5 separate regions of the Homo sapiens genome follow, and all the other regions are linked to region 5. Evidence: promoter capture Hi-C in 16 types of primary human blood cells and fetal thymus (Javierre and others, 2016). All regions are on one chromosome and are shown on one strand. The core of a region is centred on a gene start or on the middle of the fragment in contact, and the rest is flanking DNA. Distances in the headings are between cores, read along the strand shown.

What was found. The method cuts DNA at HindIII sites, captures the fragments that hold promoters and counts their contacts. A CHiCAGO score of 5 or more calls a contact.
Region 1: a contact is called between a fragment that was not itself captured here and the fragment with the promoter of IQGAP1 in region 5, in 2 of 17 cell types (total B cells and monocytes). The highest score is 5.4, in total B cells.
Region 2: a contact is called between a fragment that was not itself captured here and the fragment with the promoter of IQGAP1 in region 5, in 2 of 17 cell types (activated CD4 T cells and total B cells). The highest score is 6.1, in activated CD4 T cells.
Region 3: a fragment that was not itself captured here is called in contact with the fragment with the promoter of IQGAP1 in region 5 in 1 of 17 cell types (total B cells); the score reaches 6.3 in total B cells.
Region 4: a fragment that was not itself captured here is called in contact with the fragment with the promoter of IQGAP1 in region 5 in 2 of 17 cell types (total B cells and naive B cells); the score reaches 6.3 in total B cells.

Annotation. Positions count from the first base shown.
Region 1 is chr15:90,583,770-90,589,399 of GRCh38, forward strand. The region is part of intron 2 of CRTC3 (CREB regulated transcription coactivator 3); the gene reads left to right. Among named protein-coding and RNA genes, the nearest start is that of CRTC3, 57 kb to the left of the region's middle. RefSeq lists enhancers at 1-67, 68-579. The HindIII fragment of the contact is 1,876 bases long and covers 411-2,286 here.
Region 2 is chr15:90,624,375-90,629,866 of GRCh38, forward strand. It overlaps CRTC3 (CREB regulated transcription coactivator 3), which reads left to right. Exons shown (of 15, transcript NM_022769.5): 10 at 1,402-1,619; 11 at 4,860-5,158. All of the region lies in intron 3 of CRTC3-AS1 (CRTC3 antisense RNA 1), which reads right to left. Among named protein-coding and RNA genes, the nearest start is that of LINC01585, 33 kb to the right of the region's middle. The HindIII fragment of the contact is 9,195 bases long and covers 1-5,492 here.
Region 3 is chr15:90,561,367-90,566,929 of GRCh38, forward strand. The region is part of intron 2 of CRTC3 (CREB regulated transcription coactivator 3); the gene reads left to right. Among named protein-coding and RNA genes, the nearest start is that of CRTC3, 34 kb to the left of the region's middle. RefSeq lists an enhancer at 1,515-2,015 and a silencer at 2,287-2,416. The HindIII fragment of the contact is 3,385 bases long and covers 503-3,887 here.
Region 4 is chr15:90,149,876-90,156,044 of GRCh38, forward strand. No RefSeq gene overlaps it. Among named protein-coding and RNA genes, the nearest start is that of SEMA4B, 48 kb to the right of the region's middle. The HindIII fragment of the contact is 5,097 bases long and covers 1-4,556 here.
Region 5 is chr15:90,385,367-90,391,202 of GRCh38, forward strand. IQGAP1 (IQ motif containing GTPase activating protein 1) reads left to right here and starts at 2,876. Exons shown (of 38, transcript NM_003870.4): 1 at 2,876-3,030; 2 at 5,408-5,507. The coding sequence starts at 2,976. It also overlaps the pseudogene NDUFA3P4. RefSeq lists a silencer at 2,600-3,379. The HindIII fragment of the contact is 8,546 bases long and covers 855-5,836 here.

The sequences.
Region 1 (5,630 bases), core at 99-2,598, 200 kb after region 5:
AGAGGCTGGCTGGGTGCTGGCAGGTCTGACGCTGGAGATTTGTTATACATTTTGAACTTCTCTTGAAGTTTCTCTTTTCTTTTTTTTTTGAATGATGTTATAATAGGGTATTTAACCAAGTATGACATCCTTTTTTATTCCGCTTAGTTTGTAAGGTAGACTTAAATGATCCATTTAACCCCAAGGCAGTGTGAATTAATAGCAGCCCCTTTGTTGTGGACAGGCCTTCACGACTCCCCCACTTGTCATGAGAATCAAAGGAGGTGCTGGCAGTGCCTAGAATGATCTCCAGCTGGGTTCCCAAGAGAGGCACAGTTGTTCCTTTGTTATTTAGACTTGTCCTTTTTAAAAGAGGGGGGCTATAACATCTTCCATTAGCTTCAGTCTGCATATAAATAAAGAGCCCTGCAAGCTTCAGGAACCTGCCTTACTTCCTAAACTTGATAAATTTCCACTCTTCACCAACGCTTTTTTTTTTTTTTTTTGAGATGGAGTTTCTTTCCTGTTGCCCAGGCTGGAGTGCAGTGGCACGATCTCAGCTCCCTACACCCTCCACCTCCTGGATTCAAACAATTCTCCTGCCTCAGCCTCCCCAGTAGCTGGGATTACAGGCATGTACCACCATGCTTGGCTAATCTTGTATTTTTAGTAGACATGGGGTTTCACCATGTTGGTCAGGCTGGTCTCGAACTCCTGACCTCAGGTGATCCTCCCGCCTCAGCCTCCCAAAGTACTGGGATTATAGGCATGAGCCACCGTGCCCGGCCCCCAGCAGAATTTTTAAAAAAGAGTTGTGGTCTCATTATGTCGTCCAGGGTGGACACCAACAGAAATTTATTTAGTACTGGTGGCCAATCTGTCGCACATTTGTCAAGAACTAAAGAAGTAAACTAAAGAAGAACCAAGCAGCATCATGGGCAAGCTGGAGGCCCAGTAGAGCTAAGTGATGAGTTTAAGGATGCCGTTAGAGCCAAGCATTAACGGCAGATAGGGTAGATAGACACTACCCTATCTAGTGTCTCTACTACCAGCTACGTTTCCAACCAGTCTCCTCTCCTACCCAAGCTCTGTTGGAAACAGATACAAACCCAAGTATACAGAGGAATTAAGAAGGGTTGGGGTAGCATTTTAATTCTATCAGAGGAAGCATTATCGTCAATGAATAGCTTTGTGACTTTTAGCTAACCGTTTACATAAATATTAAGTTAGATACTTACTCCAAATGAGACTACTGGAGCCAACGTCAATTTGTAGGTGTGCCGTTTGTATTGCATCATAGTCAGGTGTCTTAGCAAGACTGTTAACCTGTAATTGAATCTTAAATCTTCAGTGGATTTAGAAGAATGTAATACAATTTATCTGGAGAATTTCTTTTTCATTTTTCTTTTTTGAAACAACAAGGTCTCGCTCTGTGCCCCAGGCTGGAGTGCGGTGGTATGATCATAGCTCACTGCAGCCTCCACCTCCTGTGCTCAAGGGATCTTCCCACCTCAGCCTCCCAAGTAGCTGGGACTACAGGTGTGTGCCACTGTGGCTAGCTAGTTTTTAAATTCTTAGCAGAGACAAGGTCTGGCTATGCTGCCCAGGCTGGTCTCGAACTCCTGGGCTCAAGCAGTCCTCCCACCATGAGCTCCCAAAGTACTGGGATTACAGGCATGAGCCATGGTGCCCAGTCTGGAAAATTCCTTAATATTTTTTTTTTTAACTTCTGTATATATCAGTACAAATCTGTGTAAAATCTCAAAAAGAATTGATTTTATGTAGGCTATATAGCAAAGGAGGCAAAGCGGTGAGGTAAAGAGAATACTGAATGAGGCTCGGGATCCTGAGTTTTAGTTTTTAGGCTGCTACAAACTAGCTCTGCAATCTTGAGAAAAATCACTTCAGCTCTCTGTACCTTGGTTTCCCATCTGTAGAAGGAAAGAGCAGAATTCCACTCCCTCTTGCTTTTACTTGTGTTGCTTTCTCTGCTAAGCCAGCAACTCCAGTTCCCTTCCTTTGCCTATCCCCACCTTATTTTCACCTACTGCAAGCTGGAAAATGAGATGCCTCAGTTTGTTAGACCTGGGTGGGGTGTGATGCAGAACTGGAGGGGTTCCTTTCTAACTGCTGTCCTCTGGGGTTCTTATCCATTTTTGTTATTTAGGGGCTTTCTTTGCTTTCTGGCTCACCACTGAGATGGTTGAAATTGCCACATAAATGACCCCTGGCTCAAGCTAGCACATTGTCCTCATAGCATAAAATAATGGTGACATCACATTCCGGTGCAGTCCTCTGTAATATTGAAGCTTCATGCAAGTACCCATTCCCAGTGTTGACGATGGTATTCCAGGAAAATATGTGTTGCTCTTGCAGGAGTTTTATCACTTTTTTTCTTGATCACGAGTCATCATGAGGTCTGTCATTGAAGCTACTAAGAGTTGTCTTATGTAGAATTGCTTCTGTTTGAGAATATCGATTAGGCACCCCTTTGTACAGATGCTGAGGTTGTGGTATTCTGGATCAATACTTTTTCAAAGTATTAACCATTTATATGCTTAATCCTGGTTTTCTGCATGTTTTTAATATATTTTTTAAAACTTGGTAGAACTTCTTTTTTTTTTTTTTTTTTTTTTGAGATGGAGTCTCGCTTTGTCGTCCAGGCTGGAATGCAGTGGCACAATCTCAGCTCACTGCAACCTCTGCCCCCTGGGTTCGAGCAATTCTTCTGCCTTAGCCTCCCGGTAGCTGGGACTACGGACTCTCACTACCATGCCCAGCTAATTTTTGTGTTTTTAGTAGAGACGGGGTTTCTGTTGGCCATGGCTGGTCTTGAACTCCTGACCTCATGATCACCCACCTTGGCCTCCCAAAGTGCTGGGATTATAGGTGTGAGCCACCGTGCCTGGCCCTGTAGAACTTCTTACATGGAAGGATGTATTTGGTCATACCATTAGCATTTAGAAACCCATATTTCACTTCAAGGTATTTGGAAATTACATTTCTCCTGTTTTTAATAACTGTATAAAAATACAACTATAAGCTAGGATTTATTTTGCTACTTAGCTGCAGAAGAAAAATGTATGTCTTGATTGTTCACACATAAAGAATATACTGTACCATATATGCTTTTGATAATGATAATCTTCCTAGTTGATAATAAACAACAACTCTCCAATTCTTGGACTTCAGCTCATTTCCTAACTTAGCGTGGGCTTATGTAGGAATCTGCTTATGGTTTACCAGTCAAGTAAGATCTGGGGTTTCTAATTAACCACAAACATAATGATATGCCAACAGTACAGTACATCTACCCAAACAGTTAATGCAAATGTAGGTCACATTGATAGATCAATAGTGTCTAAATTAGAGGAAGTAATTTCCCCCCTAGGTGACGAAATCTAGTTGCAACTTTTCAGCCATTCATCCCAGGCTGCAGCTTTCAGATGCTATGTGATAGGTAGGTGTGCACCTACACGTAACTGATATCTCATCTAACTGAGCTCTAGGTCCCTTGGGGAAGTACTCCGGGAGTATGGTACTGTCTGCCGTTAGCTCTAAACTTCTACCTGGAAATCCACAACTCTGCTTCTTTTGGAAGATTCACACGTCCTGTTTCATTACAGAAAGAGTTCTGCCGTTAGCATTAGCCATGTCACTCCCCTCCCCGGTCTATCTAGCACTGGATCCCAGACACTGATGTGGAGAACCATTTCTGTATGGAGGCACAGAAGCCTTCTCTTCCTCATTTGATGTCTAGGTCCCATGTTCTGAAACAGTAGAGTGCTTTTCAGATCCTGAGCCTAAGGCCCTCCTTAAAACACATAGAGTCCTATTTACAGGTTCGTTTCTTTCTTGCTTGCTTTCTGTATTTATTTACTAGAGACAAGGTCTCCCCTCTGTCACCCAGTCTGGAGTGTAGTGGCAGGATCTCAGTTCACTGCAACCTCTGCCTCCCAGGCTCAAGTGATCCTCCTGCCTCAGCCTCCCAAGTAGCTGGGACTACAAGCGTGAACCACCACACCTGACAAATTTTTGTATTTTTTGTAAAGATGGGGTTTTGCCATATTGCCAAGGCTGGTCTCAAACTTGTGAGCTCAAATGATCCACCCACATCAGCCTCCCAAAGTGCTGGGATTACAGGCCTGAGCCACTATGCCTGGCTCCCATTTGCAGATTCTTTTGACTTACACCTCCCTTGTTCTTCAAGAAAATGGGGCCAGGCACAATGGCTCATGCCTGTGATCCCAGCACTTTGGGAGGCCGAGGGGGGTGGATCACTTGAGGCCAGGAGATCGAGATCAGCCTGGGCAACATGGCAAAACCATCTCTACTAAACATAAAAATAAAAAAATTAAAAAATTAGCCAGGCATGGTAGCACATGCCTGTAATCCTAGCTACTCAAGAGGCTGAGGCAGGAGAATTGCTCGAACTTGGGAGGCAGAGGTTACAGTGAGCTGAGATCACGCCACTGCACTGCAGCCTGGGTGACAGAGTGCGACTCTGTCTCAAAAAAAAAAAAAAGTAAGAAAAATGGGACTCTCTATTTCATTCAGTCTCTCTCTGTCATCACTACCATATTAGCCAGCTTTGCTTTAGTAACAATCCAAAAACTCAGACTCTCAACAAACATTTATTTTTCACTCATATTACTTGTCCGTGGTGCTGGAATACCTTCTACGTCTCTCCTCTGTGTATCTTCTCCATCTGCAACTGAGGCTGAAGGAGCATCCCCTACTTAAGACATGATAGTCTCATGGCAGAAGGAAAAGAGTATGAGAGTTTCTGTTTGAACAATATGAACATCACATTTGCTCATAAGCCATTGGCCAAAGCAAGTCACATGGGCCAGTCAACTTTTTTTAGCCATTCATCCCAGGCTGCAGCTGGGTGACGTCAGAGGTGACTTGGAATGGCAACAGATGGTGCCTGAGCTGTAGGACCGTTGGGGAGCACCGTGGGAGGCTCAGAATGCTGGGGCAGTCCCTAATAGTGATGCTGCTGCTCCTGACCACGAAAGGACTCTGCAGGTCAGCCCCACCTTTGACAAGATGCTTCCCAGGGTTCCACCATGCAGACACTCATCCTCCTTTCCAATGTCCGGGTATCCCTGGGACAAGCAGCTCTTATGTATGTAACATCATTTTGTCTTCTCAACAAGCCTGTGGAAGTTATTATCATTTCCACTTTTTAGATAAGGAAGATGAAGTAACTTGTTAATAAGTGGAACATCTGAACTTGAACTGTTTCTTTGACTCCGAATCATATGTGTTTTTGGGGTTTTGTTGTTGTCGTCGTCGTTATTTTTATTTTTATTTTTTTTCTGAGACAGAGTCTTACTCTGTCACCCAGGCTGGAGTGCAGTGGCGCGATCTCAGCTCACTGCAACCTCCGCCTCCCGGGTTCAAGCGATTCTCCTGCCTCAGCCTCCTGAGTAGCTAGGATTACAGGCATGCACCACCATGCCCAGCTAATTTTTCTATTTTTAGTAGAGATGGGGTTTCACCGTGTTGACCAGGCTGGTCTTGAACTCCTGACCTCATGATCCACCTGCGTAGGCCTCCCAAAGTGCTGGGATTACAGGCGTGAGCCATGGCGCCCAGCCTGTTGTTATTTTTAAGAGACAGGGTCTTGTTCTGTCACCCAGGCT
Region 2 (5,492 bases), core at 67-2,566, 240 kb after region 5:
TTCTCCAGCTTAACCTGGCCTCCCTCTTTCCACAGTCCCTGATCCAGACTCCTGAGAACAGCACATTCTCTCCCGCCTGCCTCTCCCTCCCCATGTGCCACCCTCCCTCCTCACCCTCTGCCCTGACACCTGACACCTCAGCCATGCCCAGCTACTCTTAATTCCACGCACACACTGTGTCACATCCATGGCAAACCCGTCCCCTCCACAGCCCATCCTGACATGGACAACTCCTGCTTTTTTGCTCCCGGTGTCACTTATATGCACTGGTTACACACACCCCTTCTCAAACCCAGCATAGCGCGCTTCCTGCCACGTTGCAGTTACTTGCTTTCCCAGGCTGTCTCTCCTGCCCATCTGTGAATTCCAAAACAAGGTCCTCTCAGACCTGGCTAGCAGGCCCCTCCCTGGGGCCCCGCCCTTGAGAGGGCTTCATTCCCAAAGGGAACGTACCACCAGTGTATACGCACTAGGCCTGGGGGGTGGCTAGAGAGTCAGCAGGGTGTGGACAGAGTTTGGCTGCATAGGCTGGGATAGCTATGTGCGTACTGCAGTACAGAACAGAACTAGGGGGAAGAGAAGGGGACGTGGACTGAGGGCCAGGCTGTCTCCCTGTGCATTCTGGCACAGAACTCCAAGAAGTCTGAGAATTCTACATGTAAATCTGGCTTCACAGGCTATTATGAAGGTATAATATGTCAGGATAGACACATAGAACAAAGTTCATGTAAGGGTTTGTTCATTTGATTTATAACTTTTAAAAATGGAAACAGATGGTATGCGGGCCTTCTTTTATACTCTTGCTCCAGGCCTGTACATTTCAGGAGTAGGCCTGACCCCGGCGGACACACTCGCCCTGCTTGTTCATCATGGTGCCGCCAACATGCGGCCCGCTGCCTGGCACACAGTGCCTAGCCCATAGATTGTGATGAATGAATGGCAACATCTCTTTGTCACTTTAAAGTTTATGAAGACTGTAATTTTAAAAATATATCTTGGAAGGTATATTGGAAGGTAGCTAGTTACTCAGAGATACTTTTTCTGGTAGCAAAGATAACTTAAAAATCTAGCAAAAAGAACTACATAAATAGCAGTGCCTCACATTTTATAGAGTGGTTTATAATTTTCAGAATACTTTTGCATCCATAATCTAATCTGGTCTTGATTATTCTAGACCCTAATCTAGTATTCCTGTAATGTGGGCACAGGTAGTGGGTGAGGATATGTGTTTCGGAGAGGTTAAGCCGAGCACCAGTGTTCTCAGAATCAGAGAGGCCGCACCAGGACCTCGGTCTTTTGTAGCCACTGCTCTTATTTGACAAGGAAAAGGTTTCAGCCATGTTTGGTTTCCCAACAGCCAAATACATTGTAGAAAGTCATTCTTAATCTTTCTTTTTTCAGTGCTTTTCCACATAATGGTCAAAACCTAGGCCTCTCACCCTTCTTGGGGACCTTGAACACTGGAGGGTCATTGCCAGATCTAACCAACCTCCACTACTCGACACCCCTGCCAGCCTCCCTGGACACCACCGACCACCACTTTGGCAGTATGAGTGTGGGGAATAGTGTGAACAACATCCCAGCTGCTATGACCCACCTGGGTATAAGAAGCTCCTCTGGTGAGTATCTCCTGCTTAGCAGTGACCTGGTGGCTTAATCATAGGTGGTCCCCACCCATGTGGCCTGTTCAGTGAATCATTGAATGAGAATGACTGCATCCCAGTTAGAGATGATAATGTACCTTCTTGTATCTCCTGACCCTGCGGACATTTTTCTTGGATGTTTCTGTTTCTCCTGGGTTGATGAATTTGGGGCAGCTCTGCTGAACCTCATTCCTTATCATCCTCACTCGCTGCTCTATCCAGGGACTTGGGGAATAAGATATGGGAGCCAAGAAATAAGCATCCACTCCGTGTTGGCTGAACAGTATTAGTGGCTGTCATCAACATATGATAATTTATAATTTAGGCCATCTCTCTGGATTCCTTTCATTTTCCATTAGATTTCTAAAGGCAATATTCTGCATTTTAGAAAATTTACAGTGGATATGATGAAAATATTTATACTTAATATCTGTGTGTGAAGTAGAAATCCCCCACAGTTCCAGTTAAAGATGTAGCATTAGCTATATAAAGATGCTACCCATAATGGGACTTGGGTGTTACTCTCTGGGTTTGATTGTCCACAGCTCAGACCCCATATTGAAATTATGACTACATTTGTTTGAAGCCTGACACTTTTTTTTTTTTTTTTTTGAGATGGGGTCTTACTCTGTCACCTAGGCTAGAGTGCAGTGGCACGATCTCAGCTCGCTGCAACCTCTGCTTCCCAGGTTCAAGCAATTCTTCTGCCTCAGCCTCCAGGGTAGCTGGGATTACAGGCATGTGCCACGATGCCGAGCTAATCGTTTTTGTATTTTTAGTAGAGACAGGGTTTCACCATGTTGGCCAGGCTGGTCTCGAACTCCTGACCTCAAGTGATCCACCCGCCTTGGCCTCCCAAAGTGCTGGGATTACAGGCGTGAGCCACCACTGACATACCCTTGTCAATGTCTAGGGCAGGTGATAATCCTCTTACTCCCAGTGGTGCAGTACAGCCCCTGGCCGTAACAGTCCTACCCAGAATTGTGTTGTGGAGCATTTCATTTGGAAGGGATGCTCAGTGATGGTCTCCAGGTGAAAGCAGTGTTTGCTGCCTTTCACTCTGAGACTCATCCATGCAAATCAGAACTCACCACCCAAATGAGAGTGGTCCCCTTCAGGGGGGGTCACCTGGAAGTTTTTCTAATGATTGCAGTGATGCTGCCTGGTGCAACACAATCTTAGGTTTGAAGAATTGATTTCAGAGAACACCTTTATTTTTGTTTTTTGGGTCATTTTAGTATCCTTAATAGTAGCAGGTTTTTCATCGACTGAGTCTCAGTTTTGATATTTATACATTTGCTTCATAGGAGAAATTTGATATTTGCTTCACAGGAGAAACTCTCGAAACCTTTATGCCCAGATTCAGAGTCTGGGCAATTCACCTTTTGGGTGAATCCTCAATGTATGAAGATATCTAGGGTCCCAGAAGTAAAGCAGCATCAGCACATAGCTCCTTTGGGTCTCAGGGAAGCTGGCATTTTCCAGTACAGCCTTTGACACTTTGCTTCAAGCTGAAGATCTTATGTTTAGTCACTGGTTGTCTTCTCAAAAAAGCACTATTTTATCCAGAACATGTCAGAACCAATGTCAGTTTCTGTATTTTCTTTTTTTTTTTTCTTTTTGAGACAGACTCTTGCTGTGTCGCCCAGGCTGGAGTGCAGTGGCGCCATCTCGGCTCACTGCAAGCTCTGCCTCCTAGGTTCACGCCATTCTCCTGCCTCAGCCTCCCCAGTAGCTGGGACTACAGGCACCTGCCACCACGCCCGGCTAATTTTTTTAGTAGAGACGGGGTTTCACCTTGTTAGCCAGGATGGTCTTGATCTCCTGACCTCATGATCCACCCGCCTCGGCCTCCCAAAGTGCCGGGATTACAGGCGTGAGCCACGCCCAGCCGGCAAAATTATTTTTAAGAATTTTAGGCTGGGTGCGGTGGCTCACTCCTGTAATCCCGGCACTTTGGGAGGCCGAGGCGAGTGGATCACGAGGTCAGGAGATCGAGACCATCCTGGCTAACACGGTGAAACCCCATCTCTACTAAAATTACAAAAAATTAACCAGGCGTGGCGGCACATGCCTGTAGTCCCAGCTACTTGGGAGGCTGAGGCAGGAGAATGGCGTGAACCCGGGAGACGGAGCTTGCAGTGAGCTGAGATCATGTCACTGCACTCCAGCCTGGGTGACAGAGCGAGACTCTGTCTCAAAAAAAATAATAATAATAATAGTGATAATAATAATTTTGCCAGCTGCTGGATTTTTGTCATTTCTTCCTTTTCGTAACTTTTATCAAACACTTAAATTTTTTGTCAACACGAAACAACACATAGTTCTGCTTACCCCACCTGCTGGTACAAGAAAGATGGGCTGAAGGTTAAAACGTAGGTATTGCCAGTTGAGATACACACAGCAGCAGCAGCCGAATAATTGATTCACTGGGCGAACCTGCTCCATGCCAGGCCCTGTGCCAGGTGCTGAGGATCCAGCAGGGCATAGGACAGGATCCCCAGTTTCTGGGAGCTCATGCCCTAGCAGCCTATGCTGCAAAGATCTCTCTCCCAAATTTCCTTGCTCATGATCAAATTCACCCCTGTCCCCCAAATAAAGCACCAGCAAAAACTTCCTTTTCCCTGAGTTGGTATAGACTGTGATGAACAATTTCCTGGGAACCAGAAAATCAAAGAGGGACCCTGGGGTGGGAGATACAGGGAAGTGTCCCTTCCTGTGACTCCCTAGTGTGCTAAGGGTAATTAAAGACCACCAAGACAGCTCCCCAAGGGCCATGACTCGCCGTGGAAGGATGTTCTCCAAAGGTAGCAGGGGATGCAGGCAGTGTGCTTGGGACAGAGACCTTCCGGGGCTCTAAACAGAATTTGTTGTACAGCCCTAGGGTCCTTTCCCTGGGTCTGGGCCGAGCACCTGGAATATTTGCCTCTGTTACCCCGGTTTACCTAGTTTTGCTCACCTAGGGGTTGTTGACGTGATCTCCCTCCTCATGGGAAAACATCGTTGTCATCTTTGTGGCCCCATCTCTGTTAGTGCAGGGGCATCTTTTCCTTGCCATTGGTGCATCGGATGCAGTCCCTGTAGGAGAGCTGTCCAGGAGCTCCTTTACCTACAGAATCATCATCGCATGTGACAGTAGACAGTTTTCTTTCATTTTTGGAATACAAAAGATTTGGTCTGAAATTATAAGTAACTTGTGAATTTGTTGTCTTCCAGGTCTCCAGAGTTCTCGGAGTAACCCCTCCATCCAAGCCACGCTCAATAAGACTGTGCTTTCCTCTTCCTTAAATAACCACCCACAGACATCTGTTCCCAACGCATCTGCTCTTCACCCTTCGCTCCGTCTGTTTTCCCTTAGCAACCCATCTCTTTCCACCACAAACCTGAGCGGCCCGTCTCGGCGTCGGCAGCCTCCCGTCAGCCCTCTCACGCTTTCTCCTGGCCCTGAAGCACATCAAGGTTTCAGCAGACAGCTGTCTTCAACCAGCCCACTGGCCCCATATCCTACCTCCCAGGTAAACACACACAGACAGACCAACCACTACAGTGAAACAGACTGCAAGATATAGGAAGTGCATTCCTCCTCTTTACTATTTTGGGTTACACTCATTATTACACCAAGCACCCATGAGGTCTCAAGTGCAGTCTGTTCGCTCTTATATGTGAAATCAGAGCAGAAGTGTCAATAATGCAGAATGAATTCATGATTTTCTTTTCTTTTTTTGAGAAAGGGTCTCACTCTGTTGCCCAGGCTGGAGTGCAGTGGCACAATCGCGGCTCACTGCAGCCTCACCTCCCGGGCTCAAGCGATCTTCTCACCTTAGTCTTCGGAGTAGCTGGGACCACAGG
Region 3 (5,563 bases), core at 945-3,444, 180 kb after region 5:
GTCATACAGGCTAGTTGCATCCTACTAATTCTTCACAGACTAGATAAAAATACTTTTGCTGAAGTCTTAATCGGCCTGTCCTGAAGTCAACCAGGCTGTATGTTAGTGCCTTGACTCAGTGCAGCTTTCAAGAGAGGCAGAAAGAATACCCACAGAGAAGGCACATGTGGGCGGTGGCAGTGTAGGACCAGGAAAGAAGCTAGGTCTCTATATTCCCTCGCATTTTGAATCTGTGTTAAATTCAATCATATTAGTATGAAGCAATCCTCTTACCTATCTCCTTAATCCAGCCTCTGACTGCCAGCTCACAAAAGAGGGAGAAGAGGCACTACATTTAAAGTAGTGATTATCTCTAACTAGAATTTTAAGTCCCTACATGTTTTGGCTGTAGAACCAGCCAAAGTTTTGTTCCAATTCCCTACAAAATTTCACAATAGTCAGGAGTTAGAATTGGTCCCTATGTTATGAAACAGCTAGTTTTTATACTTTAAACTTAAAATGAAGCTTTAGTTGTTTATTATTACTGTGGATATTTTCCAAGAGACAGAATAACATCTGTGGAAGATTCTACACAGGCCTTGATGCCAGACATTGTAATTATTTCCCTGCTCAAAGGCAATAGTCAGTGCCTCAAGGAACTCCCTGGCTATAAGCAGTTGGCTGCCTCGACAACAGATAGCTAATGTCTTAGCTCTTTTCTGTCTCTACCGCCAGCCTCTTGGGGATGTGACTTGAGAAAGCTCTCCCCTCCCCATTTTCTCCTGTAACCTCTTTGGAGGAAGTCACCAGGGTAACCACTTTCTTTTATGCTAGTTTTCTTGAGTGCAAGGGAAAACACTTCCCCACAGACATATGACAGAAGTTTAAGAGTGGTGAGGAGAAGAACACGAACAGTTACTGAGTACCTGAGCTATGCTTTGTGTACCTGATATCATTGAGTTCCCACATCAACCTTCTGAGATAGGCATTATCATCCCCATTTTACTGATGCTTAAACAGTAACATGCCCAAGGTCACACAAGTGGCAAGTGACAGTCAGGACTCAAACCCAGGTTTATCTTTCTCGGGCCTTTGCTCTTATTTTGCAAATTAAGCAAGTGTAGACACACAAAACCAATTTGTTTTTACCTAGGAAACGTGTTTTATGCTTTGTTTTTCTCAGTCTGGATAGATGCCGTTTTCTAGTCCCCTGGAACCATCGTATGCCCAGTTTAGTACCACTTTTGTTTGGTTTCTCGTCTTAGAATATATTCTGCTTATTCACTCCCCCGGCCACCTGAGAAATCTTTTTACTACTTTTAGTCCAAATCAAACTTTCCTTCCCTTGACTACCTAGGAAGTCTCTCCTTGGGTGAGTCTTAACTCGCCTGAACTGAGAGTCTCACCCTGGAACTTGGTTAAGAAAGGCCAGAGTTGGGAGGCAACAGCCTGGATGGAAGAGGGGGGTCAGTTGACACTGGAGGGGGCAAGCCAGACCAGCCGCAAGCAGGAGCCAAAAGGTCAGAAAGCCAGTGAGAATGGGGTGGGCCAACAGGAGCAGACCAGGCCACACAGGCTGTGACTCCCCCTTGCAGTGGCTGCTGGGCACTGGCCATGCCTGTGCTTGTCTCTCTCAGTATCTCTTACTCTGCCATCTTGTCATTCATGAAATTGCTCAAGAGACGCTTTCTACCAGTCCGTGCCTGCTTAGTCTCCGAGAAGTTTTGGGGGTTCATTTAGAATTAATTAATTTAGAACTAGCATTTAAAAGTTAAACGGGCTGGGCATGATGGCTCATGCTTGTGATCCCAGCACTTTGGGGGACTGAGGCGGGTGGATCACTTGAGGTCAGAAGTTTGAGACCAGCCTGGCAAACATTGAGAAACCCTGTCTCTACTAAAAATACAAAAATTAGCCAGATGGAGTGGTCAATGCCGGTAATCCCAGCTACTCGGGAGGCTGAGGCAGGAGAGTCACTTGAACCGAGGAGGCGGAAGTTGCAGTGAGTAGAGATCACTCCACTGCACTCTAGCCTGGGCAACAGAGTGAGACTCTGTATCAAAAAATAAATAAATAAATAAAATAAAAATAAAAGTTTTAAAACAGCTTATAAACTTGAGTTAAAATATAACTCAAGTGAAGCAGAGAGAAGAATATTAAAGGGGAAACATTTAATGAGGAGCAAAGCATAGCCTTGACCGAGCTTCTGCTAAGAGCGGATGGCTCTCACTTGGCACAGACATCTTTCTGTATTGCACTACTTGCCCTGGCAGAGGCATCAGAACTGTTAGAACCACAATGGACTGTGCAGCACTTTTCATGCAACACTCCCCCTTTAAGGTTAGCCAACCGAGAGCAAGAAAAAATAGGTAATAAGCTCAACATTACTCAGCTAGTAAGTGGCTGGTACAGGAATCAAGTTCTGCTTACTTAGTCTGAAGGTTTTCAGCCACTTCATACCATTTGATCAACATATTTGCCCTTTGTTTTTGAATGAAATAGAAAAAATAATTTCCTTCTTTCCTTCTTTCTTCCCGCCTTCCTTCCTTTTTTTCAAACAAAATTACTGCCATTTATATTAGTGTTTCTACCACTTCTATCATGACCACTGCTGGCAAAAATGTACTGAACTTTTGCTGTGCATCAGGCAATATGGCTAACTAAGGCTTTGCATACATCATTTACTCTTTCTAGTAACCCCAGAGTAGGTACTATTACTGTCTCTATTTACAGGGAAGACTGTGGAGGCCAAGAAGGATTAAACAATTTCCCTGCATCACACAGCCAAAAATGGTAAAGCCAGATTTGAAGTCCAGGCTCTTTGATTCTGGAGTTCATGCTAGTAACTACCAGCTCTCCGTCTGGCAGTGTTTTGTTCTTTTGTTGAATTACTAAAACAGAACTATTTTCTCTGAATGCAGAAGTTGAAACCTGTTGAGGAAATTCAACCAGAGTATTTCTTGAAGAAAAAAGAAACCATTTCCTGATTTCTTTATTTGTTAACCCTATGACATCATTAGGGTTGGTAGTAGCTGCTCCTTTGCCTTCACACACAAGAAAAAAGTGTGCAAATAGTTCTTAGGAACTACTGAAGCTGTTCAGAGGACCAGAAGCTAGACCCTCCTCTATTATTTTCTCTGCCCTACGTCTGGCCTTTTTAGCTTGTGGAACTTATCATCCCCGCCATCCAGTAAAGGCTACAAAGGCCCCGAGACTAGTCCCTGCAGTTACTACTGATGTTCTTTTCTTGCTTCTCATCTGCTTTTACTACCAGTTCTGTCTTGCCCATGGTCAAACCATTATCTCTAAAACTCCACCTTCTAAGCTACCTCTGACCCTTCGAATTTGCCATGGTTAGAAAAATCAGGAAAATAGGAAACCTAACCAGCAAAGAAACATCTGGGAGTGTATTTGTTGTCACTGTAAGCAATGACACATAGATTAAAACAATAAGATACCATAGGCAGGAATGGATAGAGTATGGACTCAAGAGTAAGGCAGCTTGGGTTCAAAGCCTGTCTCTACCCATTACAAGCCTTGTGTTCAACAATTTAACCAACCTTCCTTCCTTCCTTCCTTCCTTCCTTCCTTCCTTCCTTCCTTCCTTCCTTCCTTTCATGGAGTTTCGCTCTTTTTGCCCAGGCTGGAGTGCAATGATGCGATCTTGGCTCACCGCAACCTCTGCCTCCCGGGTTCAAGCGATTCTCCTGCCACAGCCTCCCGAGTAGGTGGGATTACAGACATGCGTGACCACGCTGGCTAATTTTGTATTTTTAGTTTTTAGTAGAGACGGGGTTTCTCCATGTTGGTCAGGCTGGTCTTGAACTCCCGACCTCATGTGATCCACCCACCTCAGCCTCCCAAAGTACTGGGATTACAGGTGTGAGCCACCGTGCCTGGCCAATGTAAGCTTTCTAAGTCTCGGTTTCTTAATCTGTAAGGTGGGGATAATAATAGTAGCACTTCACAGTGTCGTGAGGATTAAACGAGATAATGTATACGAAGCATCTAACACTGTACCTAGAGCATATAAATGCCAATAAAGGCTAATTATCAAAGTCATAACTTAGCCTTTTTACCCATTAAATTAGGACAAATTTTTGAGTGATATTCAGTGTTGGTGAGTGGGTAATGCAATGTGCTCTTGTATACAGGCACACCTTGTTTTATTGTGGTTTGCTTTTTCTGCTTTACAGATACTGTGCTTTTTACAAGTTGAAGGTTTGTGGCAAACCTGCATGGAGCAAGTCTATTGGTGCCATTTTTCAATGGCATGTGGCTCACTTCATGTCTCTGTTGCATTTCAGTAAATCTTGCAACATTTCAAACTTTTTCATTATTATATCTGTTATGGTGATCTGTAATCGGTGATCTTTGGTATTACTGTTGTAATTGTTTTGGGGTCCCGTGAACATCACCCACATAAGTTGGTGAACTTAATCAAGAGAAATGTTGTGTGTCTTCTGACTGCTCCATTGATCAGCCATTCCTGTGTCTCTCCCCCTCCTTGGGCCTCCCTCTTCCCTGAGATAACAATATTGAAATTAGGCCTCTAAGTGTTCAAGTGAAAGAAAGAGTTGCATGTCTTTCACTTTAAATAAAAAGCTGCAAATGATTGAGGTTAGTGAGGAAAGCATGTTGAAAGCCAAGGTAGGACAAATTCTTGAAGGAAATTAAGTGCTATTCTGATGAACACACAAATGATAAGAAAGTGAAACAGCCTTATTTGCTCATAAGGAGAAAGTTTAAGTGGTCTGGATAGATCAAACTAGCCACCACATTCCCTTAAGCCAAAGGCTAATCTAGAGCAAAGCCTAACTCTCTTCTGTTCTATGAAGACTGAGAGAGCTGAGGAAGCTACAAAAGAAAAGTTTGAAGCTAGCAGAGGTTGGTTCATGAGGTTTAAGGAAAGAAGCCATCTCACCCAGGCGCAGTTTCTCATGCCTGTAATCCCAGCATTTTGGGAGGCTGAGGTGGGTGGATCGCTTGAGGTCAGGAGTTTGAGACCATCCTGGCCAATATTGTGAAACCCCGTCTCTACTAAAAATACAAAAATTAGCCGGGCATGGTGGCGTGTGCCTGTAGTCGTAGCTACTTGGAAGGCTGAGGCAGGAGAATTGCTTGAACCCAGGAGGCGGAGGTTGCAGTGAGCCGAGATCATGCCACTGCGCTCCAGCCTGGGTGACAGACCAAGACTCTGTCTATTAAAAAAAAAAAAGAGGAAGAAGAAGCCAACTCCATAACATAAAAGTACAGGATGAAGCAAGAATTGCTGCTATAGAAGCTGCAGCAAGTTATCCAGAAGATCTGGCTGAGGTCATTGCTGAATGTGGCTGCACTCAGCCACAGATTTTCTTTCCTCCTTTCTTTTTTTTTTTTTTTTGAGACAGAGTCTTGCTCTGTCGCCCAGGCTGGAGTGCAATGACACAATCTCAGCTCACTGCAACATCCACCTCCCAAGTTCAAGCAATTCTCTTGCTTCAGCCTCCCGAGTAGCTGGGATTATAGGTGCCCGCCACCACACCTGGCTAATTTTTGTATTTTTAGCAGAGACAGGGTTTCACTATGTTGGTCAGGCTGGTCT
Region 4 (6,169 bases), core at 758-3,257, 240 kb before region 5:
GTTCTGCCGTCTGCTCTTTGGAATATTCTTCTGGCCAAGAGCCACCACTTCCCTGACTCCGGCCTTTCTCTTCCCCACTGTCACCAACAGGGGATATAGGCTTTCTATTGGGCACCACTCCTCACTGAGAACTGCTCTCAGGGCTTTCTGAGCCTGTTGGTGTGACTGCGGTGGTGGCAGCTTGCAGGAGAGACACCTCACTCTTTGCTTTGTGGGATCCTCTGCTTGGTCCCTGACTCACAGACTGAAGCTCAAATTCTAGCCACGCACCAAAAAGTGACCGACAGCCGGGCGCGGTGGCTCGTGCCTATAATCCCAGCACTTTGGGAGGCCGAGGCGGGCGTTTCACCATGTTGGCCAGGCTGGTCCCAAACTCCTGACCATTGCATTTGTTTGCAATGTAATTTGCAAACAAATTTGGTAGGCTGCCATAACAAAAGTTCCACAGACTGGGTGGCTTAAACCGTAGACATTTAGCTTCTTACAATTCTAGAGTCCAGAAGTTCACAATCAAGGTGTCTGCAGAGCTGATTTATTCTGAGGTGTCTCTCTTTGGCTTGCAGATGGCCATTTTCTCCTTGTGTCCTCACATTTTTCCCTCTTGCATGTCTGTGTCCTAATCTTCTCTTCCCTTTTATTTTTTTGAGGCAGAGTTTTGCTCTTGTTGCCCAGGCTGGAGTGTAATGGCGTGATCTCGGCGCACTGCAACCTCTGCCTCCCGGGTTCAAGCGATTCTCCTCCCTTAGTCTCCCAAGTAGCTGGGATTACAGGCATGCACCACTACACCCGGCTAATTTTGAATTTTTAATAGAGACGGGGTTTCACCAGGTGGTCAGTCTGGTCTCAACTCCTGATCTCAAGTGATCCGCCCGCCTCAGCCTCCCAAAGTCCTGGGATTACAGGCATGAGCCACCGTGCCTGGCCCTGCCTAATCTTCTCTTCTTATAAGGACAGCCATCCTACTGGATTAGGGCCCACCCTAAGGACCTCATTTTAACTTAATTACCTCTTTAAAGACTTTACCTACAAATACATATGAAGCTAGAACTTCTTGGTGAACATAATTCAGTCCATACCACTATCTTACACTTCTGTGATTACAAAAGCAACATATGCTCCCTGTAGAAAATATGGGAACATCAGAAATGGAAAAACTAAGACAAGAATCTCTGCAAAAATCTTGTTTTTTTGTTTTTATTTATATTTATTTATTTTGATTATTTTTGTTTTGAGACAAGACCTACTCTGCCACCCAGACTGGAGTGCAGTGGCACAGTCACAGCTCATGGAAGCCTTAAGCTCCTGGGCTCAGACAATTCTTTGGCCTCAGCCTCCAAGTACCTGGACTACAGGTGTGCACCACCATGCACCATGCCTAGCTAATTTTTAAAATTTTTTTGTAGAGACAGAGTCTCACTATGTTTCCCAGGCTGGTCTTGAGCTCCTGAGCTCAAGCAAGCCTCACACCTCGGCCTCCCAATGTGCTGGGATTACAAGCATGAGCCACCGCACCTGGCCCTGTTTTTTTTTTTTTTTTTAAGTGTATAAAGTAAAAGTGAAAATATACCCTTCATTCCTCATTTCTACCTTCTTCCCCAAAGAACACTGCTGTGATAGTGAGGGACCTTTTTTGGGTTTGTCCAAACTGCTTCCAGTAACATCCTTGCCCTCCAGCTACACCTGTTCCTGCTGGTGCTCTGGAGAACAGGCCCCTTGTGCCGGGGTTGCTGGTGGATCAAATCTTTGGGCACAGTCACAGGGATTCTGCAGAAGTGGAATTGTTTTGTCAAAGGGTATACAAAATGTTCATAATTAGAGCTCAGATTTAAAAGAATTTTTTTTTTTTTTTTTTTGAGACAGAGTCTCACCGCGCCCGGCCTAAAAGGAAATTTTAAAAGAAGGCATGTAAAGATACAGGAGACCTGGCCAGGCACGGTGGCTCATGTCTGTAATCCCAGCACTTTGGGAGGCTGAGGGGGGTGGATCACAAGGTCAGGAGTTTGAGACCAACCTGGCCAAAATGGCAAAACCCCATCTCTACTAAAAATACAAAAATTAGCCGGGCGTGGTGGTGGACACCTGTAATCCCAGCTACTCCAGAGGCTGAGGCAGGAGAAGCGCTTGAACCCAGGAGGCGGAGGTTGCAGTGAGCCGAGATTGTGCCATTGCACTCCAACCTGGGCGGCAAGAGCAAGACTCTGTCTCAAAAAAAACAAAACAAAAAAAAAAGACACAGGAGCCTGTTAGGATAGCCTCCCTACGGTACTGGTACTGAAATGTTAACCGTGCTTGATCTTAGGTAATGGGGCAGGAAGTTGTTTTTCCTTCCTTTGTCTTGCTACCTAGCTGGATTTTCTACATTTTCTTTCATGAGCTTGTGCTACTTTTTGTAATGGAGGAAATAAACAACTGTAATAGAATGCTGCCAGAGAAGACAATTGAAAGGAACTTTTGGTTCTGTTCAGAAAGGGCAGGCCTGCTGCTAGTAGCTGCAGGGGACAGACAGCGGATGGGGCAGGGGGATTTCTGGCAGAGGCTGAAATGGAAGGTGGGACCTGTGGCCAGTGTGGTGGGGGCGGGGCAGTCTCTGCCTTTCAGACCTGGGAGGGAACTGTGTGCATGAGCTTTGCCAGGGAGGGAGGTAGCTCTTAGCTGGTCCAAGATAGGCCGAAGAGTTTGTAAACAAGTGCCTGGCTACTCAAAAAAAGTTTAGGTCCTTTGGCCCAGACTAGTTCTATCCCAGGCTACTGAGAAACGGGATGCTGAGTCCCTGCCACTGGTCTTTGAAAAACGACAATGGAAGATGCGCTGAAAGATTGGAGAGGGTCAAAACGCCATTCCCTTTCCTGAAAGGAAGGCAACAGAAACTTCAAACATTGGGGCAGAGGGCTAAGCAAGATTAAAGGGTGACTCAGGACCCCGTAGAAAAGGATGTGACAATTCATGGGAGCTGGAATGGGTCATCAACTGCAGCCCCAGACCAACCTCAGCTCGTGATGTGAGGCACAGAGATCCTAGATTCAGCAGGTCTCCTAACAGACTTATTATTGTTTGCAGCCAAGATGGAGAAATATGGAGTAGACACTAGAACGGTCAGGTCAAATGACAGCCCCCAAATCAGTGGACTGATGCCAAGGTGAGGCAGGTCTCTAAGTCCATGTCAAAAGGCTCTGTTCGCCTTGTTGCCCAGGTTGGAGTGCAGTGGCATGGTAACTGATCACTTCAGCCTCAGCCTCTGGGTTCAAGGGATCCTCCCACTTCACCCTCCTGAGTAGCTGGGACTACAGGCACCATCACACCTGACTAATTTTTTTTTTTTTTTGAGAGGGAGTCTCGCTCTGTCCCCCAGGCTGGAGTGCAGTGGCGCAGTCTCGGCTCACTGCAACCTCCGCCTCCCAGGTTCACACCACTCTCCTACCTCAGCCTCTCAAGTAGCTGGGACTACAGGCACCCGCCACCACGCCCAGCTAATTTTTTTGTATTTTTAGTAGAGACGGGGTTTCACCATGTTAGCCAGGATGGTCTTGATCTCCTGATCTCGTGATCCGCCTGCCTCAGCCTCCCAAAGTGCTGGGATTATAGGCGTGAGCCACCATGCCTGGCCACACCTGACTAATTTTTAAATTTTTTTTAGAGATGGAGTCTCACTGTGTGCCCAGGCTGGTCTTGAATGCCTGGGCTCAAATAATTCTCCCACCTTGGCCTGCTAATCCACAGGGATTACAGGCATGTACCATTATGCCTGGTTAGTTTGTTTTTGTTTTTGTTTTTGTTTTTGTTTTTGTTTTGTAGAGACAGGGTCTCGCCATGTTGCCTAGGCCTCAATCTCCTGATCTCAAGTGATCCTCCTGCCTTGGCCCCCCAGAGCGCTGGGATTACAGGTGTGAACTACCCTACCTGGCCCTAGTTGTTCTGTTCAGAAGCCAGATTACAGAATCTAAATGGGTCATCCAGTGACTAGCCAAATCCAAACAGGTACAAGTCCAAAAGCTGAGATCATCGCTGACAGCAGAATCTCTCCCAGAGAATTGGTGATGAGCCATTCCGGAGGCAGTGGGTGGGCAACTGCCCAGGGCTATATTCAGTCCTCGTGGCCATGGGAGGGGGCTGCATCCTGAGTGTTTAAAAGTCCTGATGAAATCCAGATGTAAGGATGAATGATGCTAAGGAGTTGGAACTCGGCATGGTAACATGGCTGCCTTGGGCTTTCTTGACCTGATGTCTTTAGCTATTTGGTCCATCTGATTGTCTTTAGTTGAGTTTCTTATTCACTGAACAGCTTTGTACGTCCTTTGAATATTTCCAAATTGTGTGCCAATTGCATTTTCCACTGTAAATGAATCAACTGGCCTTCTGTTTGTGTTTTGAAAAATTACAAGTAACGACTGGACAGGCCCAACGGAATCCCTCAATCTCCCCCATGCAACATTCCTCACTAATGACCTTCCTGGCCTGAGAGGTGGTTAAAAATAGTGCCATCTGCCCTCAAGCTACACTGCTTCAGGTATTGCGCTTCATAATCCATGCCCTCTATACTGAACCTCGTGGCCAGGACAAGCTTCCAGGGCAGTCACAGTCAGAGTGGACAGCTGTCACCTGTAGTTGGCCACAGCCCTATCAATGAGTAGGGCCTGCACCAACCCTGCTCAAGTGTTCTCTGCAGAGAGTGAGCAGCATACCTGGCTTCGTGAGGTGGGGACCCTTGTGGCTCTGGGCATCCAAAGGACTTGATTTCTCCCTTGGAAGATAGAGGCAGGGGCAGGACCAGGGCATAAGCAGTTATGCTAGTGAGGTGTACTCTGATGCCCCCCGGTACAGTCTGAAGTCTGCAGGAGTTGAAAGACGTGTGCAGGTGGGCCAGGTATCCCTAGCAGTGGTTTCTATTTGTGGCAGCCAAATGGTGAGAGCAAGAAGGTGGAGAGGACCGCGGAACCTTTGCAAAGGCAAACCAGTGAGAGTAAGTGCCAGATGGGCCACAGTGCCTTGGGGGACGTAATGGTTGTATCTCCAGAGATGAGTAGATGCTGACTTCCTATTTAACATCAATCCAGTCCCCCAAATGCCTCCGTCGGTGGGCCTGGCATTCTTCCAGACTCCCTTCAAACCATGTTTCCAGCAAGCACCCTGCCATCAGCCTTACTCCCACGCTGATTACTGGCTCTCAGCGCATGTATGTTTCGTTTACACTGTGCTGCTGTTTTGTAATTGTTTGCAAGTTGTGTCATATGTGTATGTTGTGTCTAAAGTGGATAGAGGCCTCTGAGATCAGGATCTAGTTTTCTCGAATCATCGTCCTCCTCCACAACCACCACCACCACCAATAACTGGCACCGAACACAGGGCATTACGTAATGCGGACAAAAATGCTTGTAAATGAGTTCATGTCACAGACACTCAGAAGTTTGCCCCCACTGTAAACAAACACTGTAGAGGTGAAAGGCTTTGTTTCCAAGGCTCAGGAACATGGAGAGAGGAGCCCTCTACCTTTGCAGTTCATTCAACAGACTAGGGATCTACTTGCCCTCACAGGGCTCTTAGAATAAGGAAAAAAAAGCAGAAGGCATGTTCCGCAACCTCACAGAACATATTCAGCTGGGAAGATTGTTCATGGAGTTGGCAAATCTTTTTTTTTTTTTTTTTTTTTAGACAGATTCTCACTCTGTCGCCCAGGCTGGAGTGCAATGGCACGATCTTGGCTCACTGCAACCTCCGTCTCCTGGGTTCGAGCAAGCAATTCTCCTGTCTCAGCCTCTGGAGTAGCTGGGACCACAGGCCACACCAACACTCCTGGCTAATTTTTGTATTTTTAGTAGAGACGGGTTTCACCATGTTAGCCAGGCTAATCTCAAACTCCTGACCTCAGGTGATCCACCCGCCTCAGCCTCCCAAACAGCTGGGATTACAGGCATGAGCCACCGCGCCTGGCCAGAGCTGGCAAATAATTAAAACAATTTTCAGACATCCCATCCTACCAACTTCACAGTTAAGTGTTAAAAGAAATTAGGTTGGCGGGGCGCAGTGGCTCACGCCTGTAATCCCAGCACTTTGGGAGGCCGAGGCAGGCGGATCATGAGGTCAGGAGATCAAGACCATCCTGGCTAACACAGTGAAACCCCGTCTCTACTAAAAATACAAAAAAATTAGCCGGGCGTGGTGGCGGGCGCCTGTA
Region 5 (5,836 bases), core at 1,626-4,125:
CACCTCGGCCTCCGAAAGTGCTAGGATTACAGGCGTGAGCCACCGTGCCCGGCAATTATTATTATTTTTTAAAAGACAGTCTCGCTCCGTCAACCAGGCTGGATTGCAGGAGCACAATCTCGGCTCACTGCAACCTCTGCCTCCTGGGTTCAAGTGATTCTCCTGCCTTAGCCTCCCGAGTAGCTGGGACTACAGGCGTGTGTCACCATACTAAGCTAATTTTTTTGTATTTTAGTAGAGACGGGGGTTTCACCATGTTGGCCAGGCTGCTCTCGAACTCCTGACCTAAGGTGATCCACCCACCTTGACCTCCCAAAGTGCTCGGATTACAGGTGTGAGCCACTGTGCCTGCCCTAGTAGGCATAATTTTAAATATTTGAAGATGTTGAATTAACTGAGTGAGACTTAAAAAAAAATTTTCAGGAAATTTCAGAATGCTCTATGTCCTCGTTGCCATTGCGGCTGCCTTTCTCAAGAATGCCTGGCCTAAGGAGCGGGTGCTGGTCCTGTTCCTCACCATCGGGGGCCTAGCTATAAATCTGACCCCAGTCTGCCCCTATACCATGTACTCCACCAGGATCAACTAGGCCACGCCCCACAACAACCCAGTGCCCCTCCGAGATGATGGGAACATGCTGGACATGCCCAGCCACCCCCAAGGCCCAAGCATGGAGTGGTTGAAGAAACTGCAAGCACTTCCATTGACATGGAGAAGACCATGTCCCCTGTGGCCCCCAATAAAAATGTGACCCCCCCGCCTCCGAAATAAATAAATCATTCAGTTTCTGAAAAGTGTTTGGTAAAATGTGCTAGACTTATAAATAGAATAATACAATTTGTAAAGTGAACTTAAAAGCTTAAGAATGAAATAACTTTTTACTTTGTAGGCTTAATAAATGAAACCCTTGCCCACTTTTCTACAGGGGTGTTTTGTTCTTACAGGTTTTCAAGTATCTTTAATAGTCTGAAGGAAGAGTGAATACATTGAAAATAGCTGGAGCAAAACATCTGGAGTCAGGCTATGATTTGGCATGCTAAATCATGCTGAACTTGGCCCATTATCTTGAAGGGAGGAATAGAAAAAAAAATTTAAAAAGAGAAACACAATTGCATTTGCACTTTAGAGAGAACACCCTGATAACTGTGAGGATCTAGTTGGCAGAAGGGCGACTACAGTGTAATCACAACAGGGATGGAGACAAAAGTAGACATCTCAGAAATAAACACAGATTGGATGTAGGGTGCGAGGCAAGGAGCCTGGGGTGTTCCCACTGGGAATTGAGTACTTCTGTGAATAGAGAATATAGCAGGAGCAGGGTCAGTATTTGACACGTGGGATTTGAAGTGTCTGCCCTATACACAGGTGAAAGTGTTCATTAGCTGAAAATACTGAGGGACTTCCAGACGATCTGGTCTGGTGATACATATCGAGGGGTCCTCAGCAGTTATAGGCGAGTGTAGAAAAGATTACTGAGTAGGCAAAGAATAAACGGAAGAGGGCCGGGCGCGGTGGCTCACACCTGTAATCTCAGCACTTTGGGAAGCAGAAGCGGGTGGATTACCTGAGGTCAGGAGTTCGAGACCAGCCTGATCAACATGGTGAAACCCTGCCTCTACTAAAAATACAAAAAAAGTAGTTGGGCGTGGTGGCGGGCACCTATAATCCCAGCTACTTGGGAGGCTGAGGCGGGAGAGTCGCTTGAACCCGGGAGGCGGAGGTTGCAGTGAGCCGAGATCGCGCCACTGCACTCCAGCCTGAACGACTGAGCAAAACTCCGTCTCAAAAAAAAAAAAAAAAAAAAAATGCCGGGCGCGGTGGCTCACGCCTGTAATCCCAGCACTGTGGGAGGCCGAGGCGGGTGGATCACGAGGTCAGGAGATCGAGACCATCCTGGCTAACACGGTGAAACCCCGTCTCTACTAAAAATACAAAAACTTAGCCGGGCGCGGTGGCGGGTGCCTGTAGACTCAGCTACTCGGGAGGCTGAGGCAGGAGAATGGCGCGAACCCGGGAGGCGGAGCTTGCAGTGAGCCCGGATCGCGCCACTGCACTCCAGCCTGGGCGACAGAGCGAGACTCCGTCTCAAAAAAAAAAGAAAATAAAAAAAAAGAAAGAAAGAAAAGAAAAAAGAATAAACAGAAGAGGGCTGCGGACAGAATACCGTTGAATACCAATATCTGAAGGGCAAGCCACAAGGTGCAGGGGGCAGAGGCATCCCTGATACGGGAAAAGAGTTATTTTAAAAAGAACTTGCAAAGAACAATGTCAAGGGATCCAAAGGTAGGGAATTTGGACAGAGTTCGGCTTTAGCATCCGCATCTCAAATACCTGGGTACCTGGGTAATCTGGTGACTGCTGCCGAATCTAAGAGGACTGAGGCCAGGTTGCCAAACTGCGGAGAGTGGGGTTGGAGGGCTTTCATGGCAGTTTGGGGCCTGCTTGTGTCCAACAAGACAACCTGGGTCACCTCAAAGGGTGTCTTCTCCAAATATTGGTGCAGAGGTTAGCTGGGCCGGCAAGAGAAGGGAGATGACCCACTATTTTGATTTCAGGCAGCAGACACCGGCAGCCTTTCGGTTAGAGTTGCGGATAGGGCAGTGGCCTTGGGGGCGGGGCTATAAACCTGGGCGGGCATTCCCGGCAGGGCAAGCTCAGCGTGAGCCCGATTGGAGGATGGGCTCTACCTTCTTCCTTCCGCCTACGGAGACCATAGCGGGATGCAGGGCGGGGCCGGGCTGAGGGGGCGGAGTTAGGGGCGGGGCACGGTGACTCTGGCCCCGCCTCTTTCCGGCCGCTCAGGGCGGTGTCGCTGGGGCGGTGCCGCTGGGGCGGGGCCTGCGGGGTGGGGCTGACGGCACGGGGCGGGGCCTCGGGGACCCCGGCAAGCCCGCGCACTTGGCAGGAGCTGTAGCTACCGCCGTCCGCGCCTCCAAGGTTTCACGGCTTCCTCAGCAGAGACTCGGGCTCGTCCGCCATGTCCGCCGCAGACGAGGTTGACGGGCTGGGCGTGGCCCGGCCGCACTATGGCTGTGAGTGCGGGGCTCCGCGGCGCGGGGGCTTCGGGCTGGGCTAATTGCAGACGAGGCGCGATTTTCCTGGGGGCTCGGCCGGGCGGGTGGGGCAGGGCGGCTGCCGGCAGCTCGGACCCGGAAGAGCCGTCCCGGTGGGGCGGCGGGCGGCGGGCGGGGAGGCCCCTGGTTCGCGCCCCCTCGGGGTCCGAGGCGGCGGAGAGGACCCCCGAGGCCTCCCGCCTTAGCTGGGGCCGCGGTAGGGGGAGCCCCACCCAGCGCCTCTCGCCGCCCAGGCTCGGCCGAGATTGGGGAAGACGGCCTAGAGTGAGGTGGCAGGATGACCGCGCAGGGCGTGTCCCGGGGATTGGGGGTCTGGGTACGCGGGCTCTGCCCGTTTCGTGGAAAGGCGCTGCCCTAGTGTTGCCTGCGGGGTAGACCCAAGGGATAGACCAGGGTCCAGACCTGTCCGGTCCCAGGCTAGCTACGAGGTGCCGTCCTGGGCAAGTCACTTCAGTTTTCTCGGGCTTAGTTCCCTCCTCAAGATTTCAAAAGTAAAATAGTAATAAAGAAAAAAAAAAGAAGCAGAAAATCCTCTGACTTCCTCATTTTCTGTTGTCGGCCCTGGACGTCATTGAACTGCAGGCAGGATTGGCTAAAGGAGGACCCTTTGGGATTTTGAGGTTTTCGGTTTTATTTTATATTGTGGGAATAATGTTCTTTTTTAAAGGATCAACATTTCACGCATCAACAGTTATACGTGAGGTATTGTGCCACGTTTGTGAAATTAAAGATGAGTAAGATCAGGCCCTGTCTCCAAAGAGCGTTTTAATCAGAGAGTCAGGTGTGCAAGCTAATGATTATAAGGTGCAATAATGATAAAAGATGCTGAACTTACTAGCCATACAGAGTAATGTAGGTAAGGAGAAGGGGCCTGGGGAAGACAGTATGAGCACGGGAGGTGACTTTTTTTTTTTTTTTTTTGGAGACAGGGGGTCTTGCTCTGGTCGCCCAGCCTGGAGTTCAGTGGTGCAATCTCAGCTCACTGCAAACTCCACCTCCCAGGTTCAAGCGATTCTCCTGCAGTCTCCCGAGTACAGGCGTCGGCCACCACACTGGCTAATTTTTGTATTTTTAGTAGAGACAGGGTTTCACTGTGTTGGTCAGGCTGGTCTCAAACTCCTGATCTCAAATGATCCCCACGCCTCGACCTCCCAAAGTGTGAGCCACTGCACCTGGCCTGAAGGTGACATTTGAACAGAGCCTTGAAGAATGCTGTGTAGAAAGTTTGACAGGTGGCCAGGCATAGTGACTCCTGCGTGTAATCCCAGCACTTTGGGAGTCCGAGGTGAGAGGATAGTTTGAGGCCTTGAGTTTGAGACCAGCCTGGGCAGCACAGTGAGACTCCATCTCTTAAAAAAAAAAAAAAAAATTAGCCAGGCGTGGTGGCCCATGCCTGTGGTCCCAGCTGCTTGGGGCTGAGGTAGGAGGATCATTTGAGCCCAGAAAGTCGAGGCTGCAGTAAGCCATGATTGTGCCACTGCACTCGAGCCGGAGTGACAGAACAAGACCCTGTCTCAAAAAAAAAAAAAAAAAAGTTTGATAGGGCATGTGGAACAAGAGACAGGACCTGAGGGAAGAGCATAAACAAAGGTATTGAAAGTAGAGGGATACTGTGTTGGGAACTGAGTGATGTAGACTGCACAGTGGTGGGAGGAAGGGAAGAGGAGAGTTTCCAAAAATAGTTGGGACCAGACTGGGAAAGGCCTTGAATGCCTTCCCAAGGAGTTAGGAATTTATTCCACACCTGGTGCCCATGAAGGAAGCAGATTGCTTCAAGGTTAAGCTCAGGCTTTGGAGACAGACTCTCCAGGTTTGGATTCAGGCCCTGTCACTTATTTGCCATGGGGCTGAGTTCACCCAGCCTCAGTTTCTTCGTCTGTAAAATAGGAGTGATAATCACAGGATTGTTGTGGGGTTTCAATGAGAGAATGCGTGTAAAATGCTTCGTACAATTACTGCCACTTATGTCTCAATAACTGCTGGCTTTGGTCATTAATAAAAGAGGGAAACAATATTATCAGATCTGTATTTAGAAGGAGTTCTGGCAGATAGGGACAGATTTGTGCCAAAATCTCAAGACAGTATTTTTCAAGATTACACTGAAACTTAGTACATATTTATATTATCATACATTTTTAAAAAGGTCAAGATGATTATAGTTGAAACCACATAGTTCTTTTTTTAAGAAAGTCATTGTAGTACACCTGGCTGGCTACACACTCATTAGTTATCCTGACTTTCTAGGTGAGTGGCAGGAAATTGATTCTGTGGCAATCTTTTATCACTCAGGAAGGCTACAGATCCTGGTGTTTACATTCTTTCTTTTATGTTGTAGCTGTCCTGGATAATGAAAGACTTACTGCAGAGGAGATGGATGAAAGGAGACGTCAGAACGTGGCTTATGAGTACCTTTGTCATTTGGAAGAAGCGAAGAGGTAAAGATTGGCTGGCTGGAGAGAAGATTAAGAGAAGGGAACTGATAATAGTGTGAATACAAATAAAGATTGCTTTGAGGCTGAACACAGTGGTCCATGCCTGTAATCCCAACACGTTGGGAGGCCGAGGTGGGGGGGAATCACTTGAACCCAGCTGTTTGAGACCAGATTGGGCAACATAGTGACACCCCATCTCTACAAAAAAATTTTAAAAATTAGCCAGGCATGGTGGTGCATGCCAGTAGTCCTAGCTACTCGGGAGCCTGAGGAGGGAGGATCACTTGAGTCCGGGAGGTCGAGGCAGCAGTGAGCCGTGCTCTCACCACTGT